Regions from separate parts of the Homo sapiens genome. Here region 1 is linked to region 2. Evidence: promoter capture Hi-C in human tissues and cell types (Jung and others, 2019). All regions are on one chromosome and are shown on one strand. The core of a region is centred on a gene start or on the middle of the fragment in contact, and the rest is flanking DNA. Distances in the headings are between cores, read along the strand shown. Region 1 overlaps COBLL1 (cordon-bleu WH2 repeat protein like 1). Region 2 holds the start of SCN3A (sodium voltage-gated channel alpha subunit 3).

Region 1 (7,103 bases), core at 3,460-5,959, 430 kb after region 2:
TTTTAAGAGGCAGGGTCTCTTCCTGTTGCCGAGGCTGGAGTACAGTGGCACAGTCTCAGCTCACTGCAACCTCAAACTGCTGGGCTTAAGCAATTTTCCTACCTCAGCCTCCCCATAGAACTACAGCATGTACTGCCGTGCTAACCTGAACATCTTGTTTTTTGAAGTTATTATTGTATATATTTAAGATATACAACATGGCTGTTATGATAAACATATACATATTGAGATGATTACTGCAGTCAAGCAGATTAAAATATGTATCTCCTCACATGGTTACTTTTTTTTTTTTTTTTGAAAAAAGTGATACAGGCACCTGAAAACTACTCTTAGCAAATTTCCAGTTTCCAGTATACAGTACAATATTATTAGCCACAATCCTCATGCTATGCATTAACGCTCTAGACTCATTCTTATGAACACCTTCTTAAAAATGTTTGTTGTGGAGACAGATGTAGGTACAAAGTACGTAGAGCTGTATAAGAGACAGTCAAGGCTAGAAAGCAAGTGCCAGTCACAGTTCTTGTGATATTTTGAGCTATAACCTTATCAATCAGTATTGCACACATGGAAGAAGAAATAATGCTTCTGTCAGTGAAAGTAATGGGACATGTGATTTTGTATCAAAGTTTCTGTCACTCATATTAGAATAGTCTGCATTTGATTTTGAACATTCTGGAAAAATCGGAATTGTTGCAAAGATGCACTTTGATTTAGAAAAGGACTGACTATAAAATCTAGCTGTTTAAATTCTTCTCCTTTCACATCAGGGCCTTCACAGTAGAATGTTAGTAGAAGTGAAGCCATGAAACAGAAATACCAGCTTCCATTGGCCGTATTGAGGCTTCCGTGGTAGAAAATGATGTTTGCCCTGGGCCCACTGGGAGACAATTTAGGGCATCTGCCAGGAAGTTTACCTGGTTCTTTTTTTCTTTTTACAAAATTAAATGCCTGCTTTTTTCTCTGAATTTTATTTTTATATACTCAGCTTTCTTCAAACTATCATCCTACAAGTAATTTTAAGGCTTTAAAAAATATTATACAGATGTGCTTCTTAGCAATCAGATCAAACGATGAATTAAGATAATTAAAGATTTTGTATATGTTGAGAATCTGCATTTATAACTTTATAAAGGAAACAAAAAATTGGATTCTCCAATTTTAAAATTGCTTGATAAGAAGCTGCTTTTTATTTTTGTAATTTTTATTGCATAAAGCACATTCTCTTTAGAAAAAGAGCCTGTGAAAATGTTAACATGATTATTCCCAGAATGATTGGATAAGACCAGTGAATTCCTTCTTTTACATATTTGCCAGAGGTAAGAAGTGCCTGGCGCTTACACATACATGATAAACAGTTGAGTTAGTAACAGAGCAGGACAGTTGGTTCAGCATTCTCTAAAAGTAAAGCGCTAGAGGAACAATACTGTTTTATGGAGACTTTCTGGAACAGTTGTAAGTAAATACGTTGTGTAAAACTTTTAAAATAATTTAACCTTTCCTAATCTTTTGCTTTAAAAATATCTAATATTTTCTCTCAAACTATGATTACCCTTGCACATTTTAATATGTCTGAGGACTCTTTTTCTCCATCAGCATTTTTGTAGAAAAAGCTGAAGTAGTTATGTTTTTTGAATTGATGCTTTGGAGAGTAAAGTACAGAATTTTTTTCTTAATGCATTAAATGTATATGTAATGATTAAATGTATATACATGTTAGAGAATAAAAATTATTTTAAATGTAATGCTTAATCCATTAAACTGTGTGTATATAATATTAACTACTGCTGTTCATTATGTTCTTACTGGAAACACTTCCTAGCCTTAAGACATGGTGAGGTTCCTTTCAAATTATGGTAAATTCTTCAATAAACAATATGATAATCACGCTAATCTAGGGCTTTAGCTTTTACAAGGAATAGTCTCTATCATTTAAAATATGAGAACCCTATGAAGCTAACTTTAGGTATTTTCTTCGGGTACTGGACAGAAATTCAAACTAGAATTAAGCATTTTGATCTCTAGATTGGCACTCTTTCCCCTGTACGATCCTGGCATGGACCTCTCTGTATTAACAACCCTCTTGGTAGTAACAATTGCAGTTAGTCAATTTACCTGCATTAAATTAAAAAATAAAGAATCCTTTAGCACATGAACCTTAGAGCAGACTTTGAGTGTAATATTAACTCCGTCAGCATGGACTAAGAAGTTGCTCGTGGACATTCTAAGTTGGCTGGTACACGATTACATATAATTTTGCTAAACTAACTGAATAATGCAACTTGACTCATCTCCTTGCTTACAGTACTGTACTTTCTGTGTGTGCTAAAACATTATTCTTTTATTAAGGACTGCGTTAACTTCATCCCTTAAATAGATGTCTGGTATTATGTAATATTAGATGAATGTGAGAATTAGTCTTTTTATGTAAGATAAAATTGTGGTATAGAATATCTGTGGATAGCTAAATGCATCCTTTAATTGAAACTCCAAATGGTTTGTGTTGAAAGTTTGGTGACTTAAAAGAAAAAATTGAATTAACATTGTTTTGTGGTATAAAGTATTTCTTCTAACAGAGCTAATTAGTATTTAAAGAAGTCTTCTTAGAATAAGTGATAAGATTAATTGAAAACCTTTACAGAATGAAGGAGAAATAATACATGTACTTAGGAGAGATTCTTAATGTTCAAATTAAAAATCTACTTGCTATTATCAGATGTATCTAAAATGTGAAAAATAGTCAATAGAATCATTGACTGTATATTTTTTAAACAAGGGCTGTGTTTCTAAATACCTGGTAGAAATCTAACTTATATAATTCAAATGTAAATTTCCTATAAAAATAAATACATGAGATTTACATTTTCCAAATTTTGCTGATAAAGAAACTTTATCACATTTAAGGTTGACATAAACCAGAACAGCACAAACTGCAATCTTGCCATGTTTTATTTTAAAAATAAAAAAGATAGTATCAAATTACTATCTGTCACTGGTTTATTGCTGCTAACCACACACTGTGAGGATTAACAACTAAACAAATCCCCTTATTCATGTAGGGCATGAGGTTAGATGATCGAGACTATAAATAAGCAAACTTAATGATGTCATTAATAAGGAAGAGGAGAAGGTACCTCTTGGTGTCTTGTTTACTCCCACTATGCATACGTTCTTTAGAAAGCAAATTACTGAACCATATGGAAAAGGAAAAAGCTAAGGTGAGTAATAGAATTGTTTAACACAGACTCATTATACATTCAATATTGAGTATAATTATATTCCATTTTCATGTTTGAAATAATTATGCATTAATCTTTAGAACTGGATGACTTTTCTGTAGATTTTTGAAGTTACATAGCTATAACTTGGAATGTTTAGATGCCTTCTTATCACAATTTATTCTTGTCAAAGGAAAGTAGATAGTAATTTACAAAGACACATGCAGTAGTTGGCATATAAACCATATATGTGGTGATGTACAATTAGAAACTCGTGCTTTCTAAACCTGTCTCCATCTATTCAGAACAGTGTGCCTTGTACTGACCCATTTTTGTTTTTTAACTTTAGCCTGTTGTCAATTATGTCATGAAACTCCCAAGTCATATGGACAAGCCCATTTATAATTCTAGTTGAGGTCACTTGTTAAAAGTTTTCATGTTTTGCAAAATGTACTTAAGTTTGAGTTTATGTTTTGTCTAATAGGGGTACTCTAATCATGCTGTAGTGCCTGAACTGAAACACAGTACACAATTTTTTTTTTCTAATGAGAAACTCTAGAAGACAGTGATACCCTGTTGTTTAAACAACAACATATTTGGATGGAATATCAAATTGATTACGTGTTACATGTGTGTTTTTTGTTTTGTTTAAAATTACTAAAGATGATTTTCAAAGTGTCATACTGTTGATGTAAAAAACTTAGGTTGTTGGTCAACGTCATCTGTGGTTTCTTAAAGTGCACATAAATTATAGGTATCTCATTAAATTCATAAATATAAACAATGATCTCTCAGTGACATAGAATTAGTTTTGCTTTTGAGATAAAATTTTTATATTTTCTAGCTTTTTATAAGAAAAGTGGTAGAAGGCAATTAAGAAAATATTGTAAGAGTAACATAAGTGGTGCTTATGAAATTGAGGACAATATATAGAACATAATGATCTTTATGCGAGATCAGTACAATAAAAATATCTTATTTTTATTTTAGGATCAAAAAGTAAATGTGTAAATTAGGATTTTAGCTCCTGTATCTTGACATTTATAATAACTGGACCACACCTATAATACCAGAATTCTTGTGCTATAAAAGTTGTTTTAATGGCTTTGATATCCAAAGGCTATTTTTGAACAAAGTCTTTGCTAAGACATTGCTAAGTACTGACCACCACCATTACTTGGCGTGTTATATATGCCTTTGTTTCTAGGTCCACCTATTTCCTCAGGGAAAGTTTGTATAAATGAGACTACTGTATATTTCTTTGTCATTTCCTCTTCTTGTTTCTGGGAGGAAGAATTGCAATGGATTTTACGGTGTTTATACATTAAATCAGATACCTTTCTATGGTACTGAATGTGATGGTAGTTGGGCGGGCCAGGAATAGTATTTTTGTTTGTTTAAACTAGGCAGATGAAAACATTGTTTACTTTTCAGAATATGGGTATTTTTCCTTTGTTTCAAAAGATTTAATATAGTTTTACAGCTCGTGAAGGCATGATTATAATGAATTAGTCTTTAGTATGCATATAGCTAATGGTTTTCTTTTGATAAGTTAGTGTTTCTTTTAGTAGATGTCATTTCAGAAGACATATCTATTAGATAGGTTCACATAATGTATTGTGTGTTTTTTTTTTCTTTTTGTTTCCATCTGGCACTCTAAATAGAATTTTAAGATCTTAGATTGGTGTTTCAGTGGTGCTGGGCACACAGATACGGCATACAGTAACAGAATGGCATAGGAGAAAGAAATGGGTTTTGAAATGAACTTCTCTGGGTTTTAAACCTAGGGCTGCAGTTTACTAACTGAGGACGAGTTAACTCCCTTCTCAGGAATTTATGCTTTGTCCTGTAAATTACAAAACAACAACTCACAGTGTTGTGGTAATAATTAGTTTAATTCATATATAATCTCCTGCACATTGTACCTTAGTAAATTCCATTATTTATGTTTTTATGGGTGCTTCAAAAGTGCTCATTTCTTGACCAAAGACACCTAAAGAGAAAGGGAGAACAAGGTAACATTTGAGACTTTTTATGTGTAGTTGATTAATATTGTAAAATAATAAACTGTTGGTTCTTTGAATACAGGAATTGTACTTATTTCTTTACCCAAAGCCAGCGTAGGTGCTTAATAAATGCTTGCTCTGGGGGGGGTATATGTGGCAAAACTCGAGTTTCTTCCCTTCCTGGTTTAGAGTTATTTCCCATGCATTGCTTCTTTTAACTCTGTGCAATTACTCTTTTTAAAATTGAGACAGGATCTAACTATGTTGCCCAGGCTGGTCTCGAACTCCTGAGCTCAAGTGATCTGTCTCCCTTGGCCACCCAAAGTGCTGGGGTTACAGGCGTGAGCCACCGCATCCATCCCAATTACTCCTAAATGAGCTCATTTTAATTAATCTGTAATTTGGCCTTTTACACAAACAGGAATATAAAATATATTCTTATTTACTGATGACTGGGGATAATATATATAAAATGATGTATTTGGTAGAGTTGCCAAACCACCAGTCTGAAGGTAAAAGGCAAATGTCTCTACAATAGATGGGAAGAAGAAAATGATTTTCATGGAATATAGATGTTTAGCAACCCTACAGCTTGGTTATTTTTATACATTGCTAGAAGACAGCCTGATTGTTGAATGGCTGAGGATAATTTATTCTTTGTGCAGGTTCTTGTTTTCTATGAATCAGGGTCAAATGCTGAAAGGAACTGTTATTTCACACTAAATACATTAAAAATTCTAACCCCGCATGCTTTTAAGAAACGAGATTTTTTTTTCAAAATTAGGAAAATGTTTGAACACATGGTAGAGTATGTGTGTATCTGAAAGAGAAATCATTCAACCATGTTTTATTGAGCATCTTCTTTGTTCCAATAAATATTCTAGATGCTTCAAGACACAGCATTAAACCAGAGAGTTAAGGTGCCTGGACTCAGTCAGCTTCCATTCGCTAATATGAACTTGCTAATCTGAATTAATCACTAAGAATTGTGAACATTTACAATAAGCCATTTGCATATTGTTGCTTGTATGGAAACATTTAGTGTGTAAACAGATTTCTTTGCTTAGTGTGCCATCGTGTGCTTGCAATACAAATATACCTAAAAATAGTTAAGGAAATAGGAAGGCCAGTGCTTTCACGGAGATTTTTAGAAATGTCGTTTGTCAATACATATTACTTATCTTTAAATTTAATTGTGATTTTTCAATTCTGATGACACTAATAAGATTTACAGTAGATTTTTAAAATTTCTTTTTATCAAGTGATTTACTAAGGGATATATGATAGGAGGCATTTAACTAATAGACATAAGATGGTTCTGGATCATTTCTTCCCCAGATAAGAGGGATTATTTCTATAGATGAATAAAAATGGTTTCTGGAAAGCTATGCTTCTGTATTTATATCTTAATTCAAAGGTGTCCAATCTTTTGGCTTTCGTGGGCCACATTGGAAGAAAAAGAATTGTCTTGGGCCACACATAAAATATACTAACAGTAGCTGATATGCTAAAAAAAAAAAATCTCATAATGTTTTAAGAAAGTTTACGAATTTGTGTTGGGCCACATTCAAAACCATCCTGGGCTGCATGTGGCCTGCAGGCCACAGGTTGGACAAGCTTGGCTTAGATTATTATTTTATTGAGAGAATCATTTGTATTATTTCTGGTGCATGTGATCTATCCACAGTATTCTCATTTTCTACTGCCTTTCTTACAAATTGTGTAATAAATTAAGGAGTAGCAGGTGGTTGCTTTTGCTTGGCCTGCACTTGTTTGGACAAACTAAAAAAAAATCAAGTTTCAGGTCATGATTTCTTAAAGGTTTGTCAGTGTATGGATCACAGTTCTCCAGCAATCCTGCATCTAGTGACCTGTAGAA
Region 2 (7,707 bases), core at 718-3,217:
AGAGGAAGCATGATCATGCTGACAACTTGATTCTGGCCTCTGAGTAGCCAGAATTGTGAAAAAAATGATTTCTGTGTCTAAGCCCCTCAGGATGGCAGTTTGTTACAGCAGCCCTAGTAAACTGATACATTAGACATAAGACAAAAAGATTTCAAGGGAAAACAAGTGGCTCCAGCTTACCTTTGGTACAGAAAGAAGAGACCCAAGCAAAAACTCTTTTGAGTCTGTGAAGGAAGTTATGAAGAAGGAAAGGAGTCTCTGATAAGGGCTCCTTACATAGTTTGCCAATCTAGGATTAGCTAAAAAGATGAAAAGATGAGAAGTTTCCATCTATTTACACTATTCTAGTGTGGCAGAGATTGTGCCTCGCTTGCCTGAAGCCTGCAGAGTGCATTACATCCCATGGTTTACAAACAGCAGAACAGAGATGGCTGTGTGAGGCGCCTGGGGCAGGGAGGAAGGCTTAAGTCAGCCAATTACAGCCAAGAGTGACCCTGGGAACATGCTGCTTTTTCTTCTCTCCTCCTAAAGGACAGGAACAAAAGTTTCCTTAGAGGAAGAAGTGACAAAGAGGGGATGCTGCCATGCAAAGCTGGAGGGATGCTATTCCCGGGGCCCAGTGGGCCTGTGGGTACGTTAGTAGATATGAGGGATAATGATGGTCATGGATCATGCAGGACTCCTGGCCTCAGTGGATGCCCATGTGGAGAAAGGGGGAACGGGATCATACTCTGCTTTCTCTATATATGTACACAATCCTGAACTTAGATCAGTCTCCATGAGAAGGAGAGATAGAAGAGGAAAATCATGTATTGGTTGAATGCAAACCCAAAATCATTGGGAAAAGCCTCAAGTAATTTAGTTTACCTGGAACTGACTAGATTTATTTTTCTGCCATTAGACAAAATGGGGGCCACAATTGAAAACGAAGTATGTAATTAACAGTTCTTGAACACATGGCTGGGAAATATGGTATCAGCTATATTTGTTTTTCTTCTTTGTATGAGCTCCTTTATGGCAGGCACTGTGTGTTTCTCTCTGTGTCTTTTCAAGTCTAATATAATACTTGACATCATTTTTGTCCATCCATACAGTTGGTTTGTCAATATGAATGTATTTATTTAATTGATGATAAACTGTAATAAAATCATAGTTGTTTGCTCTAAAGTAGATATGAAAGGTCAGATGAAACAATAACATACATCTGGATTGAGAAATATCTTAATAACTGATGGATTATTTTTATTTTCTTTATGTATTGTGTGCTTCAATATCCTAATAAATAATATTAGCTAGGTTCACTGATGTATAGAATCTTTTTCTACATTTAGATATTTCTTGCAAATGTTTTACCAGAAAGCAACACAAAAATACTATCAGTGAGTATGTGTTTACACTGTTCTCTAAGGAGTCAAATTCCTCACCTTGAAAATAATTCATCCCAGGAAGAGAAAAGGTTTTCAAAAGACTAGAGCAGGCCACAAGGGAGCTTTCGCAAAACTCTACACGTAAAGGGTAATGTAAACTTAAAACCTATTTTTCAAACAGTAATTTATATATCTTTTAATTTTAGTAGTTTATGTGTGAAACAATCATGCAAAACAACAAAGTGATAAAATTTTTTAAAAAAATTAGTGAGATGCAAATAACTGAATATGTAAAAGGTCTCATACATATTTATATGTAGTAGATAAGTTACATTTTTTTAGTGTGTTGGGAAATTTTAGCTCACATCACCTCTCTACTGTCATCTTGGGGCACTTTCATGACTACCCATGCTTCATGCAGGTTTACTTTCCTCCCTGTGACAGAGGATAATGGGAATGTTTTTTCTTTGGCTCAATTTTGTGTGTGTCCGCCAGTAGATGGCGGTACCACTTTGAGTGCGATCGGCCTTTTTTTCTTTCTTTTTTTTTTTCCTCAAAGCTGTTTTCTGATATATGTTGGGTACCATAGAGTGAATCTCAGAACAGGAAGCGGAGGCATAAGCAGAGAGGATTCTGGAAAGGTCTCTTTGTTTTCTTATCCACAGAGAAAGAAAGAAAAAAAATTGTAACTAATTTGTAAACCTCTGTGGTCAAAAAAAAAAAAAAAAAAAAAAGCTGAACAGCTGCAGAGGAAGACACGTTATACCCTAACCATCTTGGATGCTGGGCTTTGTTATGCTGTAATTCATAAGGCTCTGTTTTATCAGGTAAGCTGACAAAACATTTCATTATCTGCACCATAGAACCTAGCTACCAGGTCATTTTCCTTACTTTAAAATCATCTTCATGCTGCTATTTTTAACCCAGTGTTGTTTAAATGTAAATTACAGGAACCAAAGGCATCGTTTGATGTGTAAACTGCTTACTATTTCTTTATCTTTCAAAGAAAATAGAGCCTGTCTGGAAATGGTGATTTATGGTACATACTAGGCATCAATGGTCTTGTGTTTTTGTAGATGCTTATGATTAATTGTATTCAGAAAAAATATTTTTTATTATACTTAAAGCTAGTCTAATGAGTTTCCTGGCTGTATGTCATCTATTTAAATGCCCAGTGTGTCCAGTATTTTTTAAACATAAATGTATAGTGAAATTGGAACTATCATTCTTGTGCTTTAGTTTTTTATTTAACAGCTTTAGAGAGGCCATGCATATAGGGAGTGATAACAATATAGAGGTGTTTGGCTTTGTGAAATACACTATCATTTTTCTCTAAAATCTGTTTTCATAGAGAAAAGAACACCAATACTAACCATTTAAAAGAGGTTGAACCTTCAAAAAATAAAATAATCTCTATATGTTCCATAATATGCTACTTCTTTATCCTTTAATATATTCATTTTATATTAAATGTTTACCTTTTAATTTATTGATTTAAAGATTATTATATATTCTTAATTGTTCTATAAGCTTGATAGATTGCTGTTTTTCTGTATATATTTAATAACTGTTTATTTTTATTAATTACCAGGAAGAACCACTGGAGCCATAAAACAATAATTTACTTTATCTATGATCCATATTGTCTGTAGTTGTATTTAGAATATTCTATATCATAACCATAAATGTTTCATTCAGTTAGCCACCACATAATTAGAATAAGAAATTATTGACAGAAAATCTATACATATTAATTGAAAGATAAGTTTTAAAAATCATACAGGGTTTTAAAATACACAACAGGTAGTATAATGTGGCTTATGAGGACAAAGATAAAGGCATAAGTGCTTGTAGGAATTTGCATGGAAACATTTCATCACATTCACTCCAAATAGAGTGTGCCCTATATGAAATGAAGACTTCTGATTTCAACAGGGCTTCCAGTCAGTACTGGCTAAAAGGGCTTCAAAAATAGAACTTAAGGCCTCCAAACTGTAATTCCTAATGATATGTTGAAAAATATTGACATCTCACTTAATATTTTACATTGAGTAGCAATAATAGTCCCCCCAAAAACATTTCAAAATAGTGGTTGCCTGAGAGGAGAGCCCTGGGTCTTGTCTATTTCAGAAGAATTCCTACCATAGGAGATAAAGAAAACTATTTCTTTGGACAGGGTTCCCAGAAATGGCTGTTAATTAACTTGAGTGTATTGTACACACCATGCTTCTCTACAGGTGACTAAATGTGAGTAACTTTGTTCTGAGTAAGCATCAGAGCTGGTCTTGATTGAACTGGTTTACATTTATGAATGAATGCTTAATTTTGGCCCCAAATGTTAGCTTTTATTTTTCTTGGTATAGTTGCAACAGTCTCTTAGTTATTCATCTATACATGTGGTCGCCATGTGAAAAAGCAAATACACTCAGAGTTCTTCACTTCACAAAATGCGCTCTTTCAAAAATTTCGGAAATTAAACCTGCTTTGATTAAATGATATATCAAACACATTTGAATAACTTACTCTTTAAAAGAATGTAGTGGTGATTTCATTTGTAAAGTTGAGAAAAATGCTGTGATTTATTTGAGTACTGAAGATAAAAAGGTTGAACCCTGAGCTGAAAGTCTTGGGATCTGGTTCATGTTCTGCTACTAGTGAGTTTTGTTGTCTCAGAAAAGACCCCAAGTATCACTGAAGAGCATTTTCCTTGCCTACAAAGGAAGGAAATTAGAATCAAAGCTGTATAAGAATACTTTGTTTTTAAAATTTTCTGATCCTCATTTATTTGGATTTTTCTTCAGTTGGTTTCTCAGCTTAATTAAGATACAACTTTGACTCTCACTGAGTTGTAAATTATGATTGATGTGCTAAACATGAAAGTGGTAAAATAGAGAAATAGGGGCGTTTCTTGGCCAGTTCCTTCTGTAGTGGAAACAAGCAGGAAACAACATGGAGAAGTGGTTAAGAGCAAGAGCTTGGCAGGTTACATTTTATGGCCACTATTACCTGACAAGTTATTTAAACTCTCTGAGCCTTTATTACATCATCTTTAAAATAGGAATAATAATGCCTGTGTTACAGGATTGTGTAACTAAAATAATGTCTGTTCAGTGCTTGGTATAGATCCTGGAACATGATTACGAACCTCCTTCCTCTCTCTCCCTGCCATCCTAACTCACATCAAAAGGAACAGGACAAACATAAAGGCATAAATTTTCATCATTGTTATTATTGTTATCGTTAGTGCTGGTGATATAATATCTTCCACCACAACAGGAAGGATAGAATAAAACTGCCAAATAATTATGTACCTGAAAAGTGAATAATTCTCATCCTGGAAGGATGCCCTTGCTGAAACAACAACAATTGTGTACCTATAATAGTATCACTTAGTGTTAACATTCCAGGCAATTCCTGGAGAGTTTATAGAACTCATAATGCCTTCCAGAAGACAGTTATTTATGCCCAATATGTTATCACGGACTTCAAAACTTTCTTCTTCTTATGAAAATAGAGGCAAAGGGCCTTATTTCACGTTGCCTTAAGAGGATATACCTGTTAGACGAAGTTTCTGTAAAGATTCACAAAGGGAATCTAGGTTTCACCAAAACCACATTTAAACGCCAAGTAATTTCTACTAAGACCACCAGATAACTGAACCTAAATCTCAGGAAAGTCTTTGCTATGTGATCAACTCACAAACTCTCTAATGCTTCAATTCTATTAACGGTACAATAAGATGTGGAAAGGCAAATTGTGCTTGATGAATGGTTGATGGACTGCAAAATCCCTGCTTTCCTCCAAAGGTTGTTTCTAAGTGTAGCTTCGTGCTCCTGACAGCTGTGTGCTACTGGGGTCTTTGGGAGCTAGAACTTGGATGACCTTTCAGCACCCCAGGCCTCCTAATCCTTCCCTTCAACCACCCTAGGCCTCTTTAAACTGACTCAAGTAACTGCGCTGTCAGCTTCATCTTCATGGCAGCCAAGATGACTTAATGGACTCTTGATTAGGCAGATCTGAGAGGGCTAAGAGCTTGGGAGGCTTAAAAATATGAGGGTAGTGTTTCTCAACTAGACAAATGCGGTGCTTGGAATTTGTTGCTCATCTGTCTCTCAGTTCTAGGTCACTCCCAGCTCTTACGAGTTCTTATCTTTAGGGTTGATGATAACTAAAAGCATCCATAAGAATAAGCATTTAAAGATTTTTTTTCACCAAGAAATTAACACTTGATTATATAGTGATATTTCTTTACATAGGTAGCTGTGAAGATTACTTTTTTCTGATTTTCATTTATGTATAGAAACATGAACTCACTGAAGGTTGGGAATTCATGTTTCATTTGTCACCTAAAAATATATTATTCATTCGCACCTTAATATTAATGGTTGTTTTACCAGTTTTCCAAAACTGTGAGGATTAATTACCCACCTACCAGTGAAATATAATTACTTAACTCTATTTCTGTACTTTTAGGTTCGTTTTAAATTTTCGATTAATTTTAATTCTAACTGCTTTCATTTTCAAAATGTCATGCTTACGTTTTACCTTATAAACAACTTTCATGGCAAATCCATATAGAACCTGACATCTGAATTACTTCTTGAGGTAGACTGAACAATTGTAACTTGAGGTAGTTAGAAAATTTGGAAGAAAGAAAATCATATTCTTGCTTTATATTGTCGGTTCACACATTTATCTTTGATTGAGAAGCTACTGTTTTAGTTCAGCTTTACCTGAAAATATTTTTCCCTCTGGGATGAAATTAACACATTCTTTGTTTATATTTTAATGGGATGTAACAAGTGCAGACACCTATTTCGGAGCAGAATAGTGTTTCCTCTTAATAATACAGCAATAAATAAAATCTTGCTCTTTTACTAAGCACAGACATACTTTGTTTTATTAACTTCCTGATAGGCACCAGCTCTTTGGATACCTAAAATCTGAATCTACATCAGAAATATAATTTGTTAAAGTAGAATAATTCTTTAAAATTTATATGAATACCTACTTAACTGGATACCACAAGTTTCAATGTGCCAAGTATTTTTTTTTTTTATTACTTTTTTTAATATCCCACTTCTTTCCTGTAAGGATTTGAAATGATAAAGGACATTCTGGAAAGAACTTTAAAGAAGGTTTTACCCAAGATCTATGAATAAAGAACAACTGAAAAGTAACTTGCAAGCAAGTTTACAATATTAAAATACAGCACATGTAAACATATGCTGGGTGTGGTTGTATAAATGAATTTTCAGGGGTTTTAGTTCAGAGAAACCTTATGAAATCTGGAGTTATTTCTGTAAGAATTGAATTAGGTTTTCATTTTTTTGGAGACTGCATATAGGGAGCCCTTCATGTGATTAAACTCTGTGCTGGAGCAAAGTTAGAGAAATGATGGTCCCTTAATTATTAAATAGTGGTTTAATATTGTTTTATTCAATGGGTGAATTCAAAGTCACTCTTTAAATAACTTTGACCATTTTCTGCCAAGAAGCTCCCTTTTGGGAATTTTAATCTCCTGATTTTCAGAATATACTTTATTCTTACTTTGGTTGTACAGAACATTTTGTCCTTTTCCTTTCCCAAGAAAGAGCTTGAACTGGAATAATTCACTAAATTCCAATTCATATTTCTAACAAGTGACATTGCGCTTCTGGTCTAGAGTCCAACATATTCTTGCATAAGGTTTAATAGGACACGTTTTGTGGGCTTAAGCCTCTATTTGAGGACTAGTCACCTGTTTGTTAGTTTCTCTGTCTCCTTGGTGTTTCTGCTTGTGACATTTATTTTTCTCCATATAAGTTGTTTTTATTATGCCTAACTAAACATGTTCCCAAGTACTCTGAGCATTTTCTTTTCATGGAATTTATATAATGGTTGGTCATGACCTTAAATAATAAATTCTAGAAGAAACGAACATAAATTCCTGCATGGGCAAAGTAGGTAAGAGAAAGCAGTAAAGCCATTCATGTTGGGCCTGAGGAACTAGAAAGTGAATGCATGCCCTTTTTAAAATGGAAAACGCCTTCTCACTGCTAGGAGACTGTTACATCAAATGACTTCCCTGAAGAAGCTGAAAAATCCAAATTGTTAGTAAATATTTCCCTCTGTTGTTAAATGGAATCATCTATTTCAAATTATTTATAATACCAGATAGATTCAATAAAACACATGTGTAGGCAGGATCTGGCCAAGGAATTGCAAGGTTTCTTTTTCTCCTTTTGCCAATCTAACCAGTATTTTCGCCAGTTGGGGAAAATAAACCGCATGGAGAGGAAACCTCTTGACCATATTTAGAAGCACAGCTACATTGGCACTCAGATTCCTTTTCTCCTAG

The links. Contacts are between HindIII fragments. The study calls those that stand out against the background at their distance.
Region 1: a contact is called between a fragment that was not itself captured here and the fragment with the promoter of SCN3A in region 2, in 1 of the 25 tissues and cell types used here (IMR-90 fibroblasts).

What each region holds. Positions count from the first base shown.
Region 1 is chr2:164,768,059-164,775,161 of GRCh38, reverse strand. All of the region lies in intron 2 of COBLL1 (cordon-bleu WH2 repeat protein like 1), which reads left to right. Among named protein-coding and RNA genes, the nearest start is that of COBLL1, 70 kb to the left of the region's middle. The HindIII fragment of the contact is 5,065 bases long and covers 2,177-7,103 here.
Region 2 is chr2:165,198,310-165,206,016 of GRCh38, reverse strand. SCN3A (sodium voltage-gated channel alpha subunit 3) reads left to right here and starts at 1,967. Exons shown (of 28, transcript NM_006922.4): 1 at 1,967-2,194. The HindIII fragment of the contact is 11,221 bases long and covers 1-7,707 here.